Linked DNA regions of Homo sapiens: all the other regions are linked to region 1. The links are contacts of gene promoters, found by promoter capture Hi-C in human tissues and cell types (Jung and others, 2019). All regions are on one chromosome and are shown on one strand. The core of a region is centred on a gene start or on the middle of the fragment in contact, and the rest is flanking DNA. Distances in the headings are between cores, read along the strand shown.

Region 1 (3,187 bases), core at 189-2,688:
GAGGGGGGGAACAAAGCACCCTCTCATAGTTGGTGCTTAGCACAATACCTGGCTCAAAGATAAGGCCAGAAAAGTGGGGGCTATTTGACTACAGTTGTTTTCTGCCTCTCTGGGCCGTTCCCGTCCAGCCAGCCCCTTCTCTCCTTAGCTCCACCGCCCCCTCACCCGCGTCCCTGGGGCCCTCTCTCACCGTCCTCCGCGTCTGGGGCACGGGCTACCAGAAAGGTTTCCCGGGGGTCGCGCTTCTTGGCCTCGGGGTCCCTGAGGAACCTGGCGTAGACCGTCTGCGGCGCCCGGGCCTGGGCTGGGTCTGGGGAAGGCTCCTCCCGCGGCCTCCCCGTCCGCCCAGCTGAGCCGAGATGCGGGGTTCAGACAGGGTCCCATCCGCGGGTCCGCGAGGCAGCGCCTCTACCCGCTACCCCCAAGCCTGGGCGCACCCCCTCGGGCTCCTCACCCTAGGGATCTCCCCTGGGCTTGGGTTTCCACTTTCAACACTTCTCCCCGGCTTCCATTCAGCTTCCCACCCCCTTCTACCCCAACGCCACCCCCTTCTACACCAACCCCAACCCCAACCCCAACCCCAATCCCTCCCCTCTCATCACTCCCCGCCCCCTCCTCCCCCACCCCGTTCCAGGGCTCGGCGACACCCGCGCCGGCCCTCAAGCCCCTCCCTTCCGCAGCCCACACCCTGGGGGTCCACCCGGGCTCTGCACCCCGCCCACCTCCGGGCTTCCGGGGCTTGGATCCCGTGGGGCAGGGGGATTCGGGGGCCTCCGTCCTCTTCTTCCTTAGCCTCTGTGCCGGGGCGGGTCGCTGCGGAACGGGGGTCAAGAGGAGGTCGAGGAAGGAAAGGGGGGCGCTGAGGCCCGCCCATCCCCCTCTAATCCCTTGAGCCGCCAGAAATAACCGCAGATTATCCGGGGGGAACTGCAGCCCCCTTCTTGGAGTGAGGCAGGATGACCCCTTCCATGCATCGTGGCCATATCCAATGCTCCAAAGTCCCTATTCCTTCCCTGGAAACCCCAAGTCCCCAAACAGCCCTTTCTCCCCCCAGATCTCCAGACATGCAACCCCCAGACCCTGCTAAGGGGGACCTGTCCCACCCCTAGACCCCCTACCCTGCGTGGGTTTACGCACAGCGGGGACATCTTTCTGCTTCCTTTCCAAGTGGGGTGGCATACCTGTTTGGGGCGCCGCGGGGCCTCCGGGCTCAGGCTTTCTTCTTCATGCCCACTGAGGGTAGCAAAGGGATCAGCCTGTCTCCCTTCCCCTTCCCTCCCCATCCCACCCACTCCCCATCCCTCCATCTAGGCCCCCCAGGGTTCAGGTGCCACGAACTGGGGGCCTTCCAGACCTGTCAGAGGCCCACACCTCTCGGAGGGTTTCATCCCGCAGAGGCATGGTGCCTTTGCCTATCGCACCCCTTTCTCTGCAGGTCTAGGAGCCTCCCTCCCGACTCCTGCTAATCTCGGCTCAACTTCACCCCCCTTCCCCCTGCTCAAGGAGTGGAGGCCTGGCCGCGCTGTGGGAGGTGCTACAGCCCACGACCCTCCCCTGCTAGGCCCAGGCCACTGGGGGAAGAATCTCAACTCCAGTTCTTCTCAGATCCCCAGCAGCCTGCAGGATGGCCACCAGCTCCACCTGCCCCGAGAAGCCCCCAGAAGCTTGGGGTGAGAGGGGCCGATTAGTCATTTGTCAATGGGATGTGGAAGAAAACATTAGACTGGATCCTGTATTTATCTTTATTTCTCACAAAAAATAAGAACTAGAGCCAGGTGCGGTGGTTTACACCTGTAATCCCAGCACTTTGGGAGGCTGAGACAGGTGGATCATTTGAGGTCAGGAGTTCGAGGCCAGCCTGGCCGGCACAGTGAAACCCAGTCTCTACTAAAAATTCAAAAATTAGCCGGGTGCGGTGGCTCACCCCTGTAATCCCAGCACTTTGGGAGGCCGAGGCAGACGGATCACAAGGTCAGGAGATCGAGACTATCCTGGCTAACATGGTGAAACCTCATCTCTACTAAAAATGCAAAAATTAGCCGGGCATGGCGGCAGGCACCTGTAGTCCCAGCTACTCAGGAGGCTGAGGCAGGAGAATGGCGTGTACCTGGGAGGCGGAGCTTGCAGTGAGCGGAAATCATGCCACTGCACTCCTGCCTGGGCAACAGAGTGAGACTCCGTCTCAAAATAAATAAATAAATAAATAAAAAATTAGCTGGGCATCGTGGTGGGCACCTGTAGTCCCAGCTACTGGGGAGGCTGAGGCAGGAGAAGCACTTGAACCTGGGAGGCGGAGGTTGCAGTGAGCCGAGATCTTGCCAATGCACTCCAGCCTGGCCAAAAAGAGCAAGACTACATCTCAGAAAAAAAAAAAAAAAAAAGAATATGTCTGTATTGGAGGTATACCCTTAACTCTTTTTCTTTTTTCACTGATAGGGGACATGCTTTTGTGGTATTGTTTTGTTTTGTTTTAGACAGAATTTTGCTCTTGTCACCCAGGCTGGAGTGCAGTGGCACGATCCTGGCTAATTACAGTAAATCCATATCAAATGGAACTTTCTAAAATACTATTTCTTCGGTTGCCACCTTTGTTCAAAAACATTCATTGGCTCCCTACTGCCTAAGGATTAAGTTTAAATGTGTTGGGTTGACATTCAAGGCTCTCCCTGATCTGGCCCCAGTCTGCCTTTCTAACCACAGGGTTATCCCAAGCCATACTCTTCATCCAGCCACAGAGGTTTCCTTACTGCCTTTACAGTTCTGTCCTCCATGCCTTTGCTCAGGCTGTTCCCTCCCGGAACGCCCTCCCTATTCCATGAAACCTATCCAACTCTAAACAGTCCTCAAGTCGCCACTTCGGAGAGGCCTCAGTCCTCAGTTGGCTCTGACCATATAATAATAATAGCATTTATTGTCCACCTACTGTGGCTTGCTCCCATTCTGACTCCACCCTCACAATAATATTTATGAGACAGACATTAACACCCTGATATTAGGGCAAGGAGCAGTGGCTTATGCCTGTAATCCCAGCACTTTGGGAGGATCACTTGAGCCCAGGAGCTCAAGACCAGGCTGAGCAACATAGTGAGACTTTGTCTCTACAAAAAATTTAAAAATTAGCTGAGCAATGTGGTACATGCCTGAGGTCCCAGCTACTTGGGAGGCTGAGGCAGGAGGATGACTTGAG
Region 2 (3,187 bases), core at 392-2,891, 370 kb after region 1:
TCGGGAGGGTGAGGAAGGAGAATCGCTTGAACCTGGGAGGCGGAGGTTGCAGTGAGCCGAGATTGCGCCATTGCACTCCAGCCTGGCCAACAAGAACGAAACTCTGTCTCAAAATAAATAAAAATAAAAAAGCAATTAAATAAAAAAAATTATCAAAACAAGATTATTTAAAATGCAGATTACTTAAAAAGACTAAACATAAAATAGGATTGTAAAGCTATTCTCTTATGTTTCTAGCTTCCATCTGCTTAATTTTTATTTGTTGAGAGAAGTATTACAATTTGAAAATGTTTTAATTTGTAAGCAGTGATATTAAAATGACCAAACATATAGTAGCTTAAAAAAAAACTTGACAGAACATCATAATCAAGTGGCAAAAAGGAAGAGCCAAATAATTTGAGTGAAAGAAAGCTAATGAGTAGCAATCAGAAGCACTAGTAATTGAAATCACAAGGTTATTTTTTTTTTTTTTGAGGCGGAGTCTTGCTCTGTCGCCCAGGCTGGAGTGCAGTTGGCGCTATCTTGGCTCACTGCAATCTCCTCCTCCCAGGTTCACGCCATTCTCCTGCCTCAGCCTTCTGAGTAGCTGGGACTACAGGCGCCTGCCACCACGCCCAGCTTTTTTTTGTATTTTTAGTAGAGATGAGGTTTCACCGTGTTAGCCAAGATGGTCTCGGTCTCCTGACCTCGTGATCCGCCCACCTCGGCCTCCCAAAGTGCTGAGATTACAGGTGTGAGCCACTGCACCCGGCCCACAAGGTTATATTTTTAAAAAAATCTAATGGGGAGACAGTGTAAAGAAAATAACAAAAGGCTGAAAATAAAAGGCTTATGTTATTGAGTAAGCACATTTAGGGCACATTATGAATAAGAGGAGCTAGCAAAACAGACAGAATACAGCATGAAAAAAAAAGTATCCTAAAGACATAGGAGGTCATATAAGCAGACAATAATGACTGGCTAATGTCAACATTATATAGAGAAACCAACTGTCCTCCTTCTTAATCATTCTTTTCCCCTCACCCTCCAGGCAAGTAGAGTGAGCCAGTTTATATGGAATTCTGTAAGAACTAACTTTCTAGTTTAGGGCCCTTTATATTTTAATATGAGAAACGATAGTGGTCCAGAGAAAAAAACGCCTGAACAAACATACACACGAATGTGGATGTACTGCTCTGTGTGGGTATGTTATGTTGGGAAAACGGGTAGAGGCAGGAGAGTGACATGAGCCATTACTAACCCTTAACATAGTGTTTTGAGTTATATCCTTTCAATCTCTAACAGTAGTAAATAATGCAGGAGCAAAGACAGCTGGGAGATAAGGATGAAGAAAGACAGGAAAAAATGGCTAAGAACAAATGGAGAAAAGAATAAAATAGGGAATCAATGGACAGAAGCTACAGAGAAACCACCTAGCAATGTTTGAAAAATATCTTGGGGGCCGGGCACGGTGGCTCACACCTGTAATCCCAGCACTTTGGGAGGCCGAGGCGGGCAGATCACCTGAGGTCAGGGGTTTGAGACCAGCCTGGCCAACATGGTGAAACCCCATCTCTACTAAAAATACAAAATTAGCTGGGTGTGGTGGCATCCACCTGTAATCCCAGCTACTCGGGAGGCTGAGGCAGGAGAATCACTTGAACCCAGGAGGCAGAGGTTACAGTGAGCCGAGATTATGCCATTGAACTCCAAAAAAGAAAAAGAAAAATATCTTGGAACTTGAAATTCAAACCTACTAAGATATTTCAATAGTTAAAAAGCCTTCTTTGCTTAGTTAGGGTCAAATAAAGGTACTCAGCATTACTGGGGAGATTTGAGAGTATTTCTATAGTTTTACTTGGAACTTTTGCAAATTAGTAAAGAAATCTGGCACAATGACAAACATTACAAGATTAAATAATAGAAAAAACAGATATGGCCATCACGACACCCTGTGTAGGTTTTTAAAAAATTACTTGGTTTAGAATTCTTAATTCTTTGAACACACACACACACACACACACACACACACACACACACAGAGAGAGAGAGAGAGAGAGAGAGAGAGAGAGCCATCTACAAAGTGACCACAATAAGCACAAGATACTGTTTTAAGATGGTTGCAGCAGTTTTCCTTAGACATCTGGGTAATCTGTGATTTGTATTTTTCTAAGAAATGACTCAGAATTGACTTTAGAACAATAGTCTTTCCACATTATCAGCTGTTCTCTCTCCTTTCCCATCCCTTCCTTCCTGCTTCTCTGTTCAAATCTCTTCCCATAGTCTACATGAAACTAGTCATATGTAGTCCTGTCTCCTTTAAATACAAAAAGATCAACAGCAATTAGGAATGTGCATTAAAGGAAGCTAAACATGCATGAAAAGTAAAATAATGTATGAAATGTCTTTATACATTTTAAAAACAGCTTATAAACAGGTGATTTTAGATTTATCCAATCTAAGTAAGATTCGACTTCATCTTTTACTGAAAAATCTGATTGACCTTTATAAGCACAGCTGTTGCAATAACCTTTCCATTAGCTCACCGCACGTCACTTTGATACCTGTGAAGAAAATCAGCTATGGTTCCTTTCAATTCTACAGTTCTAAAACATCCAGATAAAAACATAAAACAAGTCAGTTTTTCATTATAATAGAATGTGAACAATTACACCCTTTTAGACTCTAAACATAAACTACATTCACAGCCTCTTCAAAGTTGAGGCTTAGTATAATAAATACAATCATACCTTAAATTGTTCATCCAGTTTCTTTCTTCCTTTCTTTTTCTTTCTCTCTTTTTCTCTTTCTTTTAGACAGTATCTTTTTTTTTTTTTTTTAGACAGAGTCTGGCTCTGTCCCCCACGCTGGAGTGCAGTGGGCTCAATCTCGGCTCACTGCAACCTCTGCCTCCCCAGTTCAAGTGATTCTCCAGCCTCAGCCTCTCCAGTAGCTGGGATTACAGGAGCCTGCCACCATGCCCAGCTAATTTTTGTATTTTGGTAGAAACAGAGTTTCACCATGTTCGCCAGGTGGGTCTTGAACTCCTGACCTCAGGTGATCCACCTGCCTCGGCCTCCCAAAGTGCTGGGATTACAGGCTTGAGCCACCGTGCCCGGCCTACTCAGTATTTTTCATAAGAAATTACTTCCCTTAAAGTTTCTGTGCTAACTGACAAAAATCATAGACTCTTTACTTAGTGATACAA
Region 3 (3,187 bases), core at 442-2,941, 290 kb after region 1:
CCCAGGTCTAAAACTCGTGGGCTCAAGCAATCTTCCCACCTCGGCCTCCTAAAGTGTTGGGATTACAGGTGTGAGCCACTGTGCCCAGCCTCAAGCACAGCTTTGATCCAGACCAAGCTGGCTTCAAAATTCAGCATTTACTGGAGCTACGTGGCCTCAGACACATTATTGAAAGTGAAGCTCCCTGAACCTCACTTTCCTTATTTATCTTAGGGGGATAACGCCTCCTACTTCCTGAGGTCATGATTAAGACAATGCACGTGGAACACCTTCGGAAGTGCCTGGCACATGGTGGGTGCCCAGCCATGTAATATGACCCCCTTCCTCTCACCTTTACATCCCTGGGGTGTGGAATGTAGAGAAATAGCTGGAGGAACAACCAGGAGACTCTCAAAATGAGAAAAACCAATTTGGTTCCAGCGATGCAGAAATACCATTGATGAAAGAACACTATCCCCCCTCTCTTTTATAGAACTCAATGTTTGAAAGCACTTTTTCCTATGAGTTCACTCTGATCCTTCCTTCTCTTTTCTCTACCTGCTCCCCACCCCCAGGACCTCTGTGAGGTGAGCCACAGAGAAGGGAATCACTATTCCCTTCTCACAAGTCAAGATGGAGACTGGCAAAGGAATCAGAGGAGTGATTTCTCTCCATGAAGGGAGCTGTGAAAACCATCAGCCCTGTCCCTAGTTGGTCTCAGCCAAGCTTGCAAAGAAAAAAGGCTGGAGTTTTTTCCATTACAAATGAAGTGTAGCAAAGAGAACTTTGACACTGTATGTGCTTCTAAAAGGAAAGCAAAAATTAAGTACCTGTCAATGAAAAGAGTCAAACTCTGTACAATATTTGAATAGATTTATTCTGAGCCAAATATGAGCAACCATGGCCTGTGACACAGCCCTCAGGATGTAACCACTGAAGGGGTTCACCTTGCCCACTACCTAGATAGAGCCGATTCATCAAGACAGGGGAATTGCAGTGGAGAAAGAGTATTTCATGCAGAGCCGGCTGTGCAGGTGCAGGAGACTAGAGTTTTAGAGTTGTTGTTGCTGTTGAGACAGAGTTTCGCTCTTGTTGCCCAGGTTGGAGTGCAATGGCATGATCTTGGCTCACTGCAACCTCCGCCTCCTGGGTTCAAGTGATTCTCCTGCCTCGGCCTCTCGAGTAGCTGGGATTACAGGCATGTGCCACCATGCTCGGCTAATTTTGTATTTTTAGTAGATATGGGGTTTCACCATGTTGGTCAGGCTGGTCTTGAACTCCTGACCTCAAGTGATCCACCTGCCTCAGTCTCCCAAAGTGCTGGGATTACAGGCATGAGCTACCATGCCCAGCAGGGAGCAGAGTTTTTGAAGATAACTTGGTGGGTGGGGGGAAGCCAGTGAGCCAGGGGTGATGATTGGTCAGAGATGAAATCATAGGGACTCAGAGCTGTCTTCGTGCACCCAGTCAATTACTGGGTGAGGGCCACAAGATCAGATGAGCCAGTTTATTGATCTGGGTGGGGCCAGCTGATCCATCAAGTGCAGGGTCAGCAAAATATCTCAAGCACTGATCTTAGGAGTAGTTTAGGGAGGATCAGGATCTTGTAGCCTCCAGCTGCGTGACTCCTAAACCATAATTTCTAATCTTGTGGCTAATGTTAGTCCTACAAAGGCAATCTAGTCCCCAGGCAAGAATGAAGTCAGCTTTGGGAAAGGGCTGTTACTGTCTTTGTTTAAACTATAAACTAAGTTTCTCCCAAAGTTAGTTCAGCTTACGCCTAGGAATGAACAAGGACAGCTTGGAGGTTAGAAACAAGATGGAGTCACTTAAGTTAGATCTCTTTCACTGTCTCAGTCATAATTTTGCAAAGGTGGTTTCAGAATGAGGAGAAAACAAAGAAAATGACCCCCTTTTGAGCACTCCGTAGCTTTTATGGCACCTCTACCTGACAAAGTTTATGTAAAATGGAAATAACGTGGTCTTTGTGCACATTTACATTAAGGAAAAAGAGCCCTAAGGTTGACCTGCAAACTATAGAATTCCTAAGTCATCTTTTTCTCTATTTTTCTTTTCTGCCTGCTCTAAATCTTCCTTCCTTCCTTCCTTCCCTCCTTCCTTCCTTCCTTCCTCCCTCCCTTCCTTTCGATGGAGTCTCACTCTGTTGCCCAGCCTGGAGTGCAATGGCACAATCTCATCTCACTGCAACTTCTGCCTCCCGGGTTCAAGTCATTCTCCTGCCTCAGCCTCCTGAGTAGCTGGGATTATAGGTGCCTGCCACCACACCCAGCTAATTTTTTGTATTTTTAGTAGAGATGGGGTTTCACCATGTTGGCCAGTCTGGTCTGGAACTCCTGACCTCGTGATCCGCCCACTTTGGCCTCCCACAGTGCTGGGATTACAGGCGTGAGCCACCGCGCCCGGCAATCTGCTGTTATTTTTCTATTAAGAGAAAAACCACTGTTTAGATCCAACAAGTTCTTTTTGCAAGCCAGGTGAATTTGTATTTATTTCATGGCTAAAAGTTCTGAAGTAAAAGCTACAAGGTGTGTGTGTGTGTGTGTGTGTTTAAAAGGCCTTTATAATTTCCATACTTTTATGTTTAATTGGCAATTAAATCTGTTTTAATTTCCCTCTAGAACACCAGACTTTTCTTGGCGCACCTTATAATGTAAATTTTGCTGTTTGACTTTCATCTGAACTGTTTCCTTTAATATGCAAATTTAAGGCTATTTAGCTGTCAACTGCCTAGGGTTGTGAAAGAGGTTATCAAGAATTTGATAACTCTTGAGGTCAGGTGTTTGAGACCTTCCTGGCCAACCTGGTGAAACCCCGTCTCTACTAAAAATAGAAAAATTAACTGAGGATGGTGGCAGGCACCTGTAATCCCAGCTACTCGGGAGGCTGAAGCAGAAGAATTGTTTCAATTTGGGAGGCAGAGGTTGCAGTGAGCCAAGATTGCACCACTGCACTCCGGCCTAGGTGACAGAGCGAGACTCCATCTCAAAAACAAACAAAAAGAATCTGAAAGATTAAAATAGGAAAAAAAAAGGTTTTTATAAATCTGTAAGATGTACTTCTATAGGCATGCCTGATATGTCTATGTATTTATGGGTGGTGTGCACAGTGTTTCACTACTGAAAATAAATAAAAGAGCTCTAATTGGCTTAAGAAAATAAAAGCACTTGAACACTTTATCAGGAAAAAA

The links. The method cuts DNA at HindIII sites, captures the fragments that hold promoters and counts their contacts. A contact is called where the count stands out against the background at its distance.
Region 2: a fragment that was not itself captured here is called in contact with the fragment with the promoter of TULP1 in region 1 in 2 of the 25 tissues and cell types used here (heart left ventricle and lymphoblastoid cells).
Region 3: a contact is called between a fragment that was not itself captured here and the fragment with the promoter of TULP1 in region 1, in 2 of the 25 tissues and cell types used here (aorta and spleen).

The regions. Positions count from the first base shown.
Region 1 is chr6:35,511,458-35,514,644 of GRCh38, forward strand. TULP1 (TUB like protein 1) reads right to left here and starts at 1,439. Exons shown (of 15, transcript NM_003322.6): 1 at 1,355-1,439; 2 at 1,182-1,233; 3 at 723-813; 4 at 191-349. The coding sequence starts at 1,401. The HindIII fragment of the contact is 7,738 bases long and covers 1-3,187 here.
Region 2 is chr6:35,883,280-35,886,466 of GRCh38, forward strand. The region is part of intron 6 of SRPK1 (SRSF protein kinase 1); the gene reads right to left. Among named protein-coding and RNA genes, the nearest start is that of SRPK1, 36 kb to the right of the region's middle. The HindIII fragment of the contact is 5,262 bases long and covers 1-3,187 here.
Region 3 is chr6:35,798,635-35,801,821 of GRCh38, forward strand. No RefSeq gene overlaps it. Among named protein-coding and RNA genes, the nearest start is that of CLPS, 2.9 kb to the left of the region's middle. The HindIII fragment of the contact is 4,164 bases long and covers 1-3,187 here.